Regions from separate parts of the Homo sapiens genome. Here region 1 is linked to region 2. The links are contacts of gene promoters, found by promoter capture Hi-C in human tissues and cell types (Jung and others, 2019). All regions are on one chromosome and are shown on one strand. Each heading gives the region's core, a stretch centred on a gene start or on the middle of the fragment in contact. The rest is flanking DNA. Distances are from core to core; before and after follow the strand shown.

The links. Contacts are between HindIII fragments. The study calls those that stand out against the background at their distance.
Region 1: the fragment with the promoter of CHST11 here is called in contact with a fragment that was not itself captured in region 2 in 1 of the 25 tissues and cell types used here (spleen).

What each region holds. Positions count from the first base shown.
Region 1 is chr12:104,452,759-104,459,127 of GRCh38, reverse strand. It overlaps CHST11 (carbohydrate sulfotransferase 11), which reads right to left and starts at 2,180. Exons shown (of 3, transcript NM_018413.6): 1 at 1,599-2,180. The coding sequence starts at 1,716. RefSeq lists silencers at 642-701, 862-1,001, 1,592-1,871, 1,912-2,081, 2,162-2,291 and enhancers at 1,392-1,441, 2,362-2,441, 2,462-2,511, 6,291-6,369. The HindIII fragment of the contact is 13,105 bases long and covers 1,469-6,369 here.
Region 2 is chr12:104,781,911-104,789,086 of GRCh38, reverse strand. No RefSeq gene overlaps it. Among named protein-coding and RNA genes, the nearest start is that of SLC41A2, 170 kb to the left of the region's middle. RefSeq lists an enhancer at 6,797-6,966. The HindIII fragment of the contact is 6,678 bases long and covers 1-5,735 here.

The sequences.
Region 1 (6,369 bases), core at 931-3,430, 330 kb after region 2:
ACATTAAACTAAAAATACCCAGCTGCAAACAAAAGCCATCTTTAACAGGGCTGGCTCGGACGTCCTGAGGTTACATGTGGTAGAGTCGGACCATATCCTTGGCAGTGTGGCTGCCTTAACAACTGCTCCAGACCGAGTGGGGCAAAGGGGCCGTCTGTCCCTGCGCTGTCAAGGAATCTGCAGCCTGCAGCCCTGCCTGTTTGATGGAAAGAACAGCTTTATTCCTCTGCCATCGACCCAAACGCAGGCTTGATGAATTCGGGACTGCGTCTGTTTAAAGTGTTAGATACACAGTGAAAGGAGAAGGCGGGAGGCAAAAATGAAAAACACCAACCCCACTTCCCTGGAAGGAAATGCGTTTCCACCTCCCTCCTCCTTGCAATTAGAAAAGCAAATTATTGCTGTGACTACGCTGAGAAAGGCAACTCGGAGGCGTAGAAAATGGATTTCTGAGCCAACGTGGCCCGGCAGGGGGCTGCTAAGGGAGGGTAAAAGGGAGCAGGGGAGCCACGGCTTGGCGGGGAGACCCGCGTTACCCGGAAGGCTTCTCGGAACGTTCTACCTGTTGGGCTTCGCAGCCGAGCTGCTCACCCCCGGCCGCCGCGCTCGAGGGCGCCCCTCCCTCTCCAGAACCCAAACTTTCCCTCGCACCCCTAGGAAGCGACGAGCCTCGTCCCTCCCCCAGTCCAGATTTCGGACGTGGAACTTTGCCTGAGCCACAAGGGACCGGAGGAATGGGGTTCATTCCCACGCCGCCCGGGGGATTCCCGTTGCTCGGATCCCAGAAGTGGGGGATGCAAACGGACGGTCAGCCCAGGACCTGGCCAAAGTTTCCTCCAAAACTGCAGTGGTCAAGGCGTGACCCAGGAGCTCGGAGTTTCCAGCTCAGGGCTGGGGGCTGGAGCAGGCCCCGGGGCACCAGCCGCAAGGTCACTGCGGAGCCGGACCCCGGGGGCAAACGGCCGGCGCGTGGTGGAGGGGCAACGCTGGGCACCCGACCACTCTCCACACCTGCTCAGCTCTGCGCGGAGCCCGGGACACGTGGGAGCCCAGTCCCGGGCTCCCAGCCTGCTGCAGGGACTCGCAACCTCGCCGGGGCGTACACCCTTCGCCCCCGGCCCGGCAACCAGGAAGAGGCGGCTCGCCCGGGCGCAGAGCAGCCGGCTCCGGGTAACTCTTTCATCCTCCGACCTCGGCAGCAGCAGGGAGGGAGTTTCGTTCTCCTCAAACCAGCCCCTCACCCCCGGTTGCTTCCCACACCTCTCCGTTTCCCTGCTACCTCGCAGACAGACAGACAAGGGACACAAAGAAAAAAAGAAGAAGAAAAAAAAAAAAAAAAAAACTACCGCCCCTCCTGGTCCCATCCTCCAGCCCGGAGCCGGTAGGAAGAAGAGGGCGAAGCACACCTTCCCTTCTCCTCCCCATCCCGACGCGGTGACCCGGGTAGATCTGGGCAGCCAGGAGCTCTGGGCAGCCAGGAGCCCCGAAGAGGCCGAAGGCGGAGAGGTAGGGTTGGAAGAGGCAGAAATCAGGCGGAGCGAGCTAGAGCGCGAGAGAGAAGAAAATATCCAACAAAACCACGCTAACGCGCCCCCTACCTGGGTGCAACATACTTTGGAAATAGAAGATGACCAGGATAAAGGATCCCAAGCAAGTGGCCAGCACCATCCGGCAGATTCTGTTCATCCTCATCACTTCCAGCAGCGCTGGCTTCATGGCTTTGTCCTGGCTGCGGGGACCGGGGTGTCCGGGAAGCGCGCCCGGGGCGCAGGAGCAGGGACCCCGCCGCGCGGACCGGAGCCCGGGAGGCGCGGGGCAGAGCTGAGCAAGGCTCAGAGGGAGGATCGGAGTCGCTTCGCGGCCGCTCTCGGAGCCCCCAGCCCGGGCAGGGGTGTGGAAGGTGCCGGAGTTGGTCTGGAAGTGCTGAGATGCGTGGACCCGCTGGCTGCGCGCTCCTGCTCCTCCTCCTCGCCGCTCCGCCGCCTCCTCCGATCCCGCCGGCGGCCGCCGCTGCCTGGTCGCGGGCCGGGCGGCTGGGGTGCGAGCGGTGATGGTGGTGCCGCCGCCGCTGCCGCTGCGCTGGCCGCTGTGGCTGTCCGACGGGCCCTCTCCCTTCTCTCCAAAGGCTACTTCATTGCGCTCCAACGATCTATATATTCCGGGGCTGGGTTTTACCAAATGCAACTCGCGGCCCCCGGCGAGGGGAGGGCGCCTGCGGAGAGCCGGGAGGAGGGAGGGACCCTAGCGCCGGGGCGGAGCGTCGCGCTCCCCCCGCCCCTACCCGGGATATGGTCGCGTCCAGCTGTTGCCCGGGGAGTGCGGTGTGCGCGCCGCGCTCCCGCAGGGTCCCAAAAGCCCTCAGTCCCCGGCCGGGCTCGGCCGCCGTCTGGAGGTTGTGTCAGCGTTTCCATGACAAAACCCGGAGGAAAAAAAGACGAAGAAAATCGCCTCGGTGCTGCCACCCACCCCCGCCAGCGTTTGGAGAGGGAAGTGGCAAGCAGCGGGCTGGGTCTCGGAGGGAAGAATTAAGGGTTAGGGGGTTTCTGGTGGCTGGCAATTATTTAAAATCCCTGGGCGACGTAGCGGGGAAGTTGCCCCAAACCCCCAGGGAGCGAGTGCCCATTTTCCGACGCTCAGAACTGGGCGGTTTCGTTTTTCTTTCAAAGGACAGCCCAGCTTGGGAGTCGGGGTTAAAGAGGGCTGACTTAAAGTCAGGGTTAAGGAAACTGCACGACCCTCGGGTCAGGCGACAGCTGAGCTTTCCCGGGGACTTATACAGACAGAATCTCTGACACCCACCATCACCACCATTCCTCAAGGCAAAAGGGATCTGTGGGTTGCAAAACTCTGCTACCCCAAAGGGTAGAGCATCCTCCAAATTATTCAAAATTAACAGCAGTCTTAGCTGGGAGGGGGTGAGAAAATGCCCCTAGGAAGCCACCTCAACCAAGTCCAGAAAACTGCTGGAAAAGCCAAGCCAGCCATAGCACTGGCAGGTACATGGAAAGATGGTGCTGCTTTCTTGTATTGTGTAGAATGACTTCCAGTTTCCAATTCCATGCATTTAGGCTGTTTCACAATCAATAAAGTGGACACAGCCAATAGTGTAGGGATCACTCGTATGTCAGGGAAAAAAAAAATGTTAGTTAGACTAACCTTTGTGCCTTATCAAGTCATTACTAATTCAATTAAAAATGAAATAAGATACTGTGTCTTTCAATGCCTCTCACAAAATAGGCATTTGATAAATTCTTATTGAATCTGAATGTAATGGGCCTTATCCTCCCCTCGATAGACAGAGACACAACTTGCAGTTAGACACATGCAACAAAAACCACCTGGGCAACCTCAGTTCCCTTCCCCCAGAGTTCTCCTCCAGCAGTTGCATGGTGGGGAAAGTAACAAACTCAGCAGCCTTGCCTTTGATTACAGAAGACAATCAAAGCACAATATTTATGTAGCCGGTGTGCGCTGTATTAATTTGGACTTACCTGTGAATAAGTTGCTTGCTCAAGGAAGCCAGGCTGAACAAGCTTCAGACAGAGTCGTTCTCCAGTGATTCTTCTGCTCTGGTGATAGGAGATCAGGAATGGGAGTTGCACTGCACCCTCCCCACCTCCCCACCATCATCACTAAGAAAGGGGATTCCTTGCAGAGGGCATGGCTTAGATGGGCATTTGCACAAAGCCTTTGCCTGGAATATAAGTCTCTCATTTAACACTTGGCTTTACAGAGCCAGGGAGGGGAAGGGATTTACTCCCAGGTCACCCAAGTGACCTCTCACCTCATAGGCCAAAGACTTCAGTTACCTGCCCCAAAGCCTGGACATGCACAAGGCAGTTTGGGAAGTCACAGGGTCAAGGAAGAGATCAGAAGTCCAATTCCCTGTGAGTCACAGAGATCATGGAGTTGGCCCACATGGTGGGGGAGGATGGTGAATCATGCCCAACATCCATTCTTGCATTCCCACAATCAGGAACCTGCCCAAACACAGTGAGGATTAAGGCTGTGACACATAAGCTACCACCTCTCCCAAGAAGTCTTTGCTGTTTTCTCACCTGAAATTGCAACTTTCCTCCTCTGCGCTGTGAGCACTAGGTCCAAACCTCTTTTGGGCCACTGTACCCACTAGGCTGAACTCCTTCCTGGAGATCCAAGTTGTCTTCATCTCTGTCTCTTTCTAATGCCCAGCACAATGACTGGTACATAGTAGGTACAAATAAGTCAGAGGCAGAGAGGTAATGCCTACTTGGACTAGGAAGTTAGATTAGATCACCTCTAAAATCTATGACAAAGGTCAGTGGTAATGGTCTGTGATTCTGTTGTTCTATGCACATTGAGGGGTGATGAAAAAATTCTGTTTTCTCCTTCATCACACTCTAAACTGCCCAACTACAGTTAGAATCATTGCTTTCTTTCCATTCCTAGCCTAAGAAAATTTTGTTACATCTTATGCTATATAATAAATATTAGCCAAGTAAAGGACAGTATTAACTGATAAAACTGAGGAGAAAAATTTTATACTTTGAACATTGAAAGAGGAACGGATCAGTCTTCAGATCCTTTCTCCCTCATCTTTCTAAATTCCCTTTTGCCCTGAAAGATTCTGCAGATTGGCATTGTGCTCATTGTGGGACCTGGCTTGATTGATTGACTCTCCAAATTCAACAACATGCAAGTGAAACTGGGGCCTGCATTTTTGTTTTGTTTTGTTTTGTTTTGTTTTTGAGACGGAGTCTCACTCTGTCGCCCAGGCTGGAGTGCAGTGGCGCGATCTTGGCTCACTGCAAGCTCCGTCTCCCGGGTTCACACCATTCTCCTGCCTCAGCCTCCCGACTAGCTGGGACTACAGGCACGTGCCACCACGCCCGGCTAATTTTTTGTATTTTTTAGTAGAGACGGGGTTTCACCATGTTAGCCAGGATGGTCTCGATCTCCTGACCTCGTGATCCGCCCACCTCGGCCTCCCAAAGTGCTGGGATTACAGGCGTGAGCCACCGCGCCCGGCCAGGGGCCTGCCCATTTTAAAGCCTGGCATGGCCCTGAAAAACTGGTTGAGGAGAAAGTCTTATTTATGTTGACGATCTTGTAGAATTTATAGCAGGGGAAGAAATCGGTGTGAAGTCACAATTCGGGCTTCTGGGTGCTGTTGTCAATGGACTGACAGATGTTTATGTGGCCCTTCCAATCCGCGCAGGCTGAGCGCCTCCTCATTCCGGCAGATTATACCTACAATGCACTGTCTTGTTACGATCTTGCAAACCTGGCAACGATGCCCTTTTCTGCACCTTGTTGGAGAGAAAAGTGGGCCCAGGGTACTAGTAGACAGAGAGCTCTTCAGCATCCTTGAAGGGAGAGAGGGATGTGTCTTCTGCCAACATCAGCCAGGGGCCCCAGACTGGCTCCTCCAAGGACTGGCGCTGCCATTTGCATCTCTCTGGCACCTCTAGCACAAAGGATACTCAGTTAACCAGAGCACAGTAAATATTTGTGAAGTTGAATTATAAACCATTTGCCCGCAGTATGTGGAGATCTTAGGGTACAAATTTTCTACAGGTAGGTAAACCGCAAGTAACACAAATGGGTTACTCGTGACATGACTCTGAGAGCAGGCTCTGCTTTGCAGGCTTTTCTGAACAAGGTGGAGAAAAAGACAGCAAGAGAGAAAGGGATTGAAGAAGGGAAAGAGAAAGGGAGAAAAAGAGGGGAAGGGAAGAGACGAAGGGGGAGGGAAGGAGAGGAGAAAGGGTTGGGGAAGAAAAGAAAAGAATTGCCTGGGAAAGAGAAGGAGGAAGGATGGGAGAGGGAAAGGGAGAGAAAAGAAGAAAGGACGAAGGAAAGGAGAGAGGGAGGAAGGAAGGGAAGACAAGATGAAGAGGGAGGAAGGAGAGAGGGAAGAAGGAAGAGAAGAAAATAAAGGAGAGAGGAGAGGAAGGAGGAAAGGACTATCCCTCATTATTCTGTCTCACTTTCTTCTTCTTTTTTTTTTTTTTTGAGGTAGAATCTATCACTCAGGCTGGAGTGCAGTGGCGTGATCTTAGCTCACTGTAACCTCCGCCTTCTGGGTTCAAGCAATTCTCCTGCCTCAGTCTTCTGAGTAGCTTCAGTACAGGCATGCACCCCCATGCCCAGCTAATTTTTGTATTTTTAGTAGAGATTGGTGTCACCATGTTGGCCAGGCTGGTCTCCAATTCCTGGCCTCAAGTGATCCGCCTGCCTCAGCCTCCCAGAGTGCTGGGATTACAGGCGTGAGCCACCGCGCCAGGCCTTGTCTGACTTTCTGATGCCGCCTTTGCTCCTCCACCTAGTTTAGGCCCGAAAGACTCCTCTCCCTCCCTTACTGAGGACCAGGTCTGTGGGACCCTTGGG
Region 2 (7,176 bases), core at 1,147-3,646:
GGCAACCAGGGACCACTCCTATAGTTTAGAGCCCACCAAAATTATTCAAACTAGCCAGTTCTAAACAGTTCAGCCTGCCCTTCCCAGGAAACCCCTGTAACCTCTGGCCTAGACTTTCCCCTTGCCCCTGCTTTCTGCCCCTTGATCATCCCATGTGGCTTCCCCATGTGACCCTGCAGGAGTGCCACACTTCCTGTTTCCAGAATCTGTGAATACAATAAACTGTTTTTTTCCTGAGCCTCTCCTGTGTCCTCTTGTGGCCACATCTGACTGACCATCACATAAAAGAACACAGAACAAAATATACATGTAATATGTAACTGCGTTTTTAAGAGATTGGAAGGAAATGTTCATTATCTTACAGTGAGATTTTAGATTATTTTCTCTTTATGCTTCTCTTTCTCAAATTGTCTGCAATGAACATGTATTATTTTTGTATTATTATTATTATTTTGAGATGGATTCCTGCTCTGTCCCCCAGGCTGGAGTTCAATGGCGTTATCTCGGCTCACTGTAACCTCTGTCTCCTGGGTTCAAGCGATTCTCCAGCCTCAGCCTCCTGAGTAGCTGGAATTACAGGCATGCACCACCACACCCAGGTAATTTTTGTATTTTTTTAATGGAGACATGGTTTCACCTTGTTGGCCAGGCTGGTCTTGAATTCCTGACCTCAGGTGATCCACCTGCCTTGGTCTCCCAAAGTGTTAGGATTACAGGCATGAACCACTGTGCTCAGCCTATTTTTGTATTTTTTAAAAAGCTGTGTGTCCTAGAAGAGAAAGAAACGTGCCAAAAGTGTGTTCTAAATGAGATTTTCAAATGAAGTTGGCTGTAGCGTTTACGACAGGGGATGTCAGGTTTACTTGTGGCACCCTCATTGCCCAGGCTACTGTCTATCACTATCATTAGTGATAAAACCATGTTGATTGATATCATCACAGGATAGTGATTTAAGGATTTAATGCATCCTTTTAAGGCGATTTTGGTGAGCAAGTGATCCTCTATATGACACCGCCAGAAGCATACAGGACGAGAGTTCTTCATTGCATTTCCCAGGCTTCCAAAACGTCTGCAGACATATATTGGGCAAATTATATTCTAACTTGTTCTATCAACTGTTACCCAGCTTGATATCTCCCTAAGACCTAGTGTGCAACAAAATATAGTAAATACAACTTCAATTGTGATGTTATGTCTGGCTACTGATCAGATTATTGGACTATACTATTTTTGGACCCAAACAAATCAACCACAACCTTTGAAATGCACCATAAGAAGTAAGATAGTGCCCTTGAGAATATTAACAGTAGGTGCCCCTGAAAGTAAAGGGCCAAATATAGGGACATTTCAAGCCCAGTCGACCAGGTAGATGGGGGTGACTTGTTCAGCTGAGGAAGACCTTGGCTCCTGGAACTACTAAATTCCAATGATAAATATCTTTCTTTAAGGGCATTTGAAGGATACAAGCCTATGTATTTTTATTTAGTATATCTTTCTGCCAACTTTTTTAAAAAAAGTATTATTTTAGAGACAGGATCTCTCTCTGTTGCCCAGGCTGGTCTCCAACTCCTGGCCTCATGTGAGCCTCCTGCCTCAGCCTCCCAAAGCCCTGGAATTACAGGTGTGAGCCACTGTGTCTGGCCCCCTCTTTCAGTCAATTTTTTGTTGGGTAAACTGAATGCTTAATTCACTATACCCAACAAAATTTATGTTTATGTTTATACAATTATGTATTAATTTTGTGTTGCCTTGGCATCCATTTTAAATACATTAGACTTTCTCATACCAGAAGCAGGGCTCAGTCATTCCTGACACTATTTCCAGTCCAACTCCCTGCCGAGTTCCTCAATGTGCCCCATCCAGATATCTGCCTTATACAACTGCTCCCTAGTGACCACTTCCCCATGGGACAGCTAGATGCAGCCTGCTTGACTGGCCCCACTCACTCTTACACCCCACAGAGACTGTGCAGATCTGCCATAGTGACCATGTATCAGTTATTGTGTGACCTGGAACTTGTGCCTGCTTGGTTTAAACCCAATTAAAACTCCGTGCAGGAAACCTGTTTGGATAATGCCCAATACCCAATAAAGGCATTGGCCCATGGGTCTCTTTTTTCTCTCCCTGCCTGTGCTGTCTGACCTCCCTGTGTGGCCTCTAGGCATGCCATGTCCCGCCCAAGGACCTGTAAGTAATACAGTCTTTATTTCCATCTTGTAGTTCTCCTAATCATTGAAGGATGCTCTCATCTTAAAGATCCTAAATCAAAGAAATGGGGAAACACCAATAGGGTTAATTTTGAGTTTCAATTCAAGCATATTATGAAGTATTCCACATGAGGAAGAATTTTAGACTTCTTGGTCGTTTATCCAGAGGCTAAATTCAGATTAAGAAGCTTTATTAAGCCCCAATTATGAATGTGGCCAAAGGAAAAATGTGGTTAGTGGCCTCAGAGGAATCAGCACATTAACCATCTTGCAGAAATTTAAAACAATTCTGTCTGGGTTAATGGATACAATTAACACCAATAGACACCGTATGTAAGTAACTGAGGCTATTTAACGCAGTTATTGACTATACAAATCTCTGCACTGTGGATTAAGCAGTCTCACAATTCGTTAGAGAACGTAATTAGCAAGACTTTATTAAATGTCATTATTGGCTCCAGAGCAGATTTGTATGAGAAACACCTAGGTAGGTAGTTTTCTGAGAAGAATGCTTAAATGACCATCATTTCAATGCTTGGTTTTAAGTGGGTAAATATGTATCTTCAAATACAAATTGTTTACTAAATTCAACTTAAATTTCAGCGTATCCTTTCTCCCCACTTCTCTCCAATCTTCACTGGCCTTCATTTCTCCCACCACATTAAATGGACTTTTCTGCCCAGCCAACAAGGTCCTTCATAATCTCCCTACTACCCTCATTTCACTTTGATGTGTGTTTTTGCCAGTGTTAGGGCTGGCCTCCTCGTTATCTATTTTATCCAGTGAGCTCATTTCCTCCTTATCTCCCAGCTCCTCAATGGCTGACTCCTGTCAATCGTCGCCGAAGAATCATTTATTGAGAAAAAGGGAGTCAGAAGTAAGTAAGCCTATGGTAGAAAGAAGAAAGGATGCATATTTGAATCTGTAATGAGGCTGCCATGGCATGAGTGTGTCCCCTAAAGTTCATGTGCTGGAAACTTAATCCCTAATGCAACCATGTTGGGAGGTGGGGCCTAATGAAAGGTGATGAGGTCATGAGGGCTCTGGTCTCGTAAGTAGATTAATGTTGTTATTGTGGGAATGGGCTAGTTCTTGAGTGGGTTGTCACAAAAGCGAGTTTGGCTCCCACTCATTCTCATCTCTTTCCTCTTTTGCCCCTCCACCTTCCACCATGGGATGACACAGCATGAAGGCCCTTGCCAGATGCCAGTGCCATGCTCCCAGACTCCAGAACTGTAAACCCAGCTCTCCAGGTGATTCTGAGAGTTACAGGAGCCAGACATTTATCATTGGAGTTTAGTAGTTCCAGGAATTTAGCAGTTCCAGGCCAGGTCAATAACCACTCCTTAAGAGTGGTTATTAACTTCTCAAACTTTGATGTGCATGTAAGTCACTGGGGGATTTTGTTACAGATTCTGGTTCAGTGGGCCTGGGGTGAGGCCTGACATTCTCAAACTTTTTCATTTCAAAAAAGTTCTCAGGTGATGCTTATGTTGCTGGTCTGTGGACCACAGAATGAATAGCAAGGCTGGAATGGGAAAGGTAGAAAAGGACACATAGACTGAAATCATTTTGCATCCAAAAAGAAGTTCAGATAAAGCACAATTGCTATTATACTGAGTTTGTGCAGAATAGGATGTTAATGATGATGATAATGACAATGCTAGGCTGGATAAATATAATTCAGGTTTCCCCAGACCTCACCAACCTGCGTACAAATAAGGTCTTATGTTCACAATATGTTTACAGTAAGTACTCAGATTTATCCTGCTCATTAGTCTATTTGCATATCACAGAAACACTAGCTCCCTCTCTTTAAGCCTCACCCAATTATTTCTAGGAGTCCCTGGGGGTCTCTCACTTCACTTTGGCAAGAGTTGTCCTCTCAGGGTCTTCAGCTCAGGATCCCCTTTGTTCATGCTCAAAGCTCAAGACACTGTTTGGGTAGGGGCTTTACTCCTGTTGGTGCCATTCCTGCCCTGACAGCCCTGGTGTCTACTCCTAAGGCACTGTCTCCCAGGATCCCAAAGCTGCAGAAACTTGAGAGGCCAGAACAGGGCTTTATCCTTGAATTGAAGCCATGGAATGTTGCACATAGCAGAGGGCAATAGCTTTTCAGCAGCATTTTATGCTGAAGCAGCCCCACTTGCTCCCTGCTGTGTCTGCCTGAGTTCCCTGGGAAACGACATCAGATTCTACCTGCAGCCTGTGTCCAGACCATACCTATAGGCTGGCAAATGAACAGATATCATATCTGTCTCAGTACAAGAGGAAGCATACAGATAGACTCCAAACTGAAAAATCTGTCTCCCGGAATTGAGTTTCTTACCAAAGAAGTGTAAAAATAGGGGCAAGATGGCCAGTGCTTATGCCCATTTGCATAGAAGTTATCTGGGATTACTTTTTGTTGCACTCTTTAATTGGTTCACTGTTCTTGGAGGTCATGCCATTGTTTGTCTTCAAGTTATTTTTCCTTTTGCTGCAGTAAATCCTTAATTTACTTTTTCAGAAAGTGTATATACTTACCTATATATATGTGTGTATCTATATATAACCTATATGCAAACATGCATATATAACCTATATATGCATGTTATAACATGTTATATAACCTGTATATGCATGTTATATATAACCTATAAACATGCATAACTTATATAACAAACATGCTTGCACACACATGCATGTTTGAAGATAGGTTTTTGTATATCTAAGTTTTTACATGTGTGAAAATGTATTATATCCCTCTAATACTTGATTAATATTTTGGGTAATTTTCCATTTAAAATTATGTTTCTTCAGAACTTTGAAGGCATTTCTTTACTGCTTTCTAGAATTCACTGTCACTAATGAAAGAAAATAGTGGTTAAGAGTACTAAGCCAGACTGCTGGGTTTGAGTCTCAGTTCTGCCACTCACAAGGTATGTATCCATGGGTAAGTTCCTTGATATTTTCATCTGAAAAATGGTAATAATAAGAGTAGCTACCTTGTAGGACTGTAGTGAGGTTGAAATTAACCAATATAGGTCAAGTGCTGAAAACAGCTGATCGCACATAGTAAGCCTATTAAAATGTTAGCTTATTAACATTTATTATTAAAACGTTAGATCATTTTCCTCCTTTGCTCAAAGCAAAGTGGCTCCCTTCTCTTTCATCTTTATATTTATCCTCCATGTTCCAAAACATCATGGTACTATAGCTATGTGGGTCATTTTGCACTCATTGAGCTTGGAACTTAGGAAACTTTTTTGAATATCTTCCTTTAGTTCTGGGATTAAAAAAAAAAAAAAACGTTTCATGCTTTTTATTCTCTTTTCCTTTCTAGGATGTCTTAGTTAAATTTGGACCCTCTTGGATTGATCTTATGTATTTCTTATTTTTTTCCCCTCAGATTTTCCATTTCTTTGGGGTGTTTTTGTTGTTGTTGTTCTATATTCTGGGAGATGTTTTCATCTATTTATTTCACCCAATGTATTACATTCTTCATTTATGCATTTATATCTTTAATTTTTCACAACCTACTTCTTGTTTTTTGCTTCTTTTTGTTAGTACTTTGAATGGATGGATATGATATCGATCCATATCTTTGTGGCTCTTAATTAGATTCGTTTTATGATCTTCATTTTCTCCTAAGTTATCTCAGTTCCTCCCAGAATGTGATGAACAAAAGTCACTTATAGATGCTTGAAATCTTTGAGCACTCTCCCCATATTTTGATACCTTTTCATAATATTAATTTCATCTTCTCATAGACATTACAAATATTACATTTCCCATCTCCTTGTAATTAGAATATAGACTTTGATTCAGCCAACCAGCATAGGCTCTTTTGAGAGCTTTGATTCTAAAGTTAGTTGCAAGAAGAACGTGCTAGGACACCTGGCGCCTATTTTGCTGGCACTGGGGGAAGGCAGAGGTGCAACATTTTTGGAGTCCATAGCAGCAGTGGCCGCAGCAGATCTCTTCTCAGACCAGTCCTGGAGTATGGTTCAGGGAGATGTTCCTGGAGACTCAGCCTGAGATGATTCCTCCAGTCCTTTCAAAGATTATCCAATAATAAATACATTCCCCATGATGGCTTTCCAGCCTGGACTTATCCCTCAGATTCCAGATTTTTTCCAACTGCCTATATGACCTTGCCACATGGATATGCAGTGAACCACACCACCTGGCATTTGTGCCCATGTGTAATCCTCTTTCCTTGAGTGTGGGCTCGCTGGGCATGTTAACTCACTCCTAATTAATAGAATAGGGTAGATGTGATGGATGTCACTCCAAGATTACGTTATAAAAGGACTGTGCCTTTCATCTTGGGCACTCACTCTCTCTAGCCCTTTCTTGGATGACTCAACCTGAGAAAAGCCAACTCTCATATTATAAGGTAGCCCTGCAGAGCGGCCTCTGTGGTGAGGGACCAATGCCTCCCAAAAACCATGTGAGTTAGAGGGGAAGCAGATCCCTCACTCTCAGTCAAACTTTCCAATGAGACCACAGCCCAAGCCCCAGTGACTCCAAGAGAGACTTTGGGCCACAGATACTCAGCTAAACTGCACTCAAGATCAAACTCACAGAAGCTGTGAGATAATAAATGTTTGGGGTTTTTCAGCCACTGAGTGTTATTTTGCAGCAACAGATAATGAATATAGGTGTCATAAATTTAACTTGTCTAGAACCGAACTCCTGATCTTCAAGTCTGCCCTCAACACGCTCCTCTCATAGTCTTTCCTAAAAAAAAAGAAAATAGTGGTTAAGAGTACTAAGCCAAGCTACTGAGTTTGAGTCTCAGTTCTGCCACTCACTAGGTGTATATCCGTGGGTAAGTTCCTTGATATTTTAATCTGAAAAATGCTAATAAGACTAGCTAACTTATAGGACTATTGTGAGGTTGAAATTAATGAATATATGTTGAGTGCTTAAAACAGTTGATCACGCATAGTAAGTACTATAAAAGTTTTAGCTATTTTTCTTA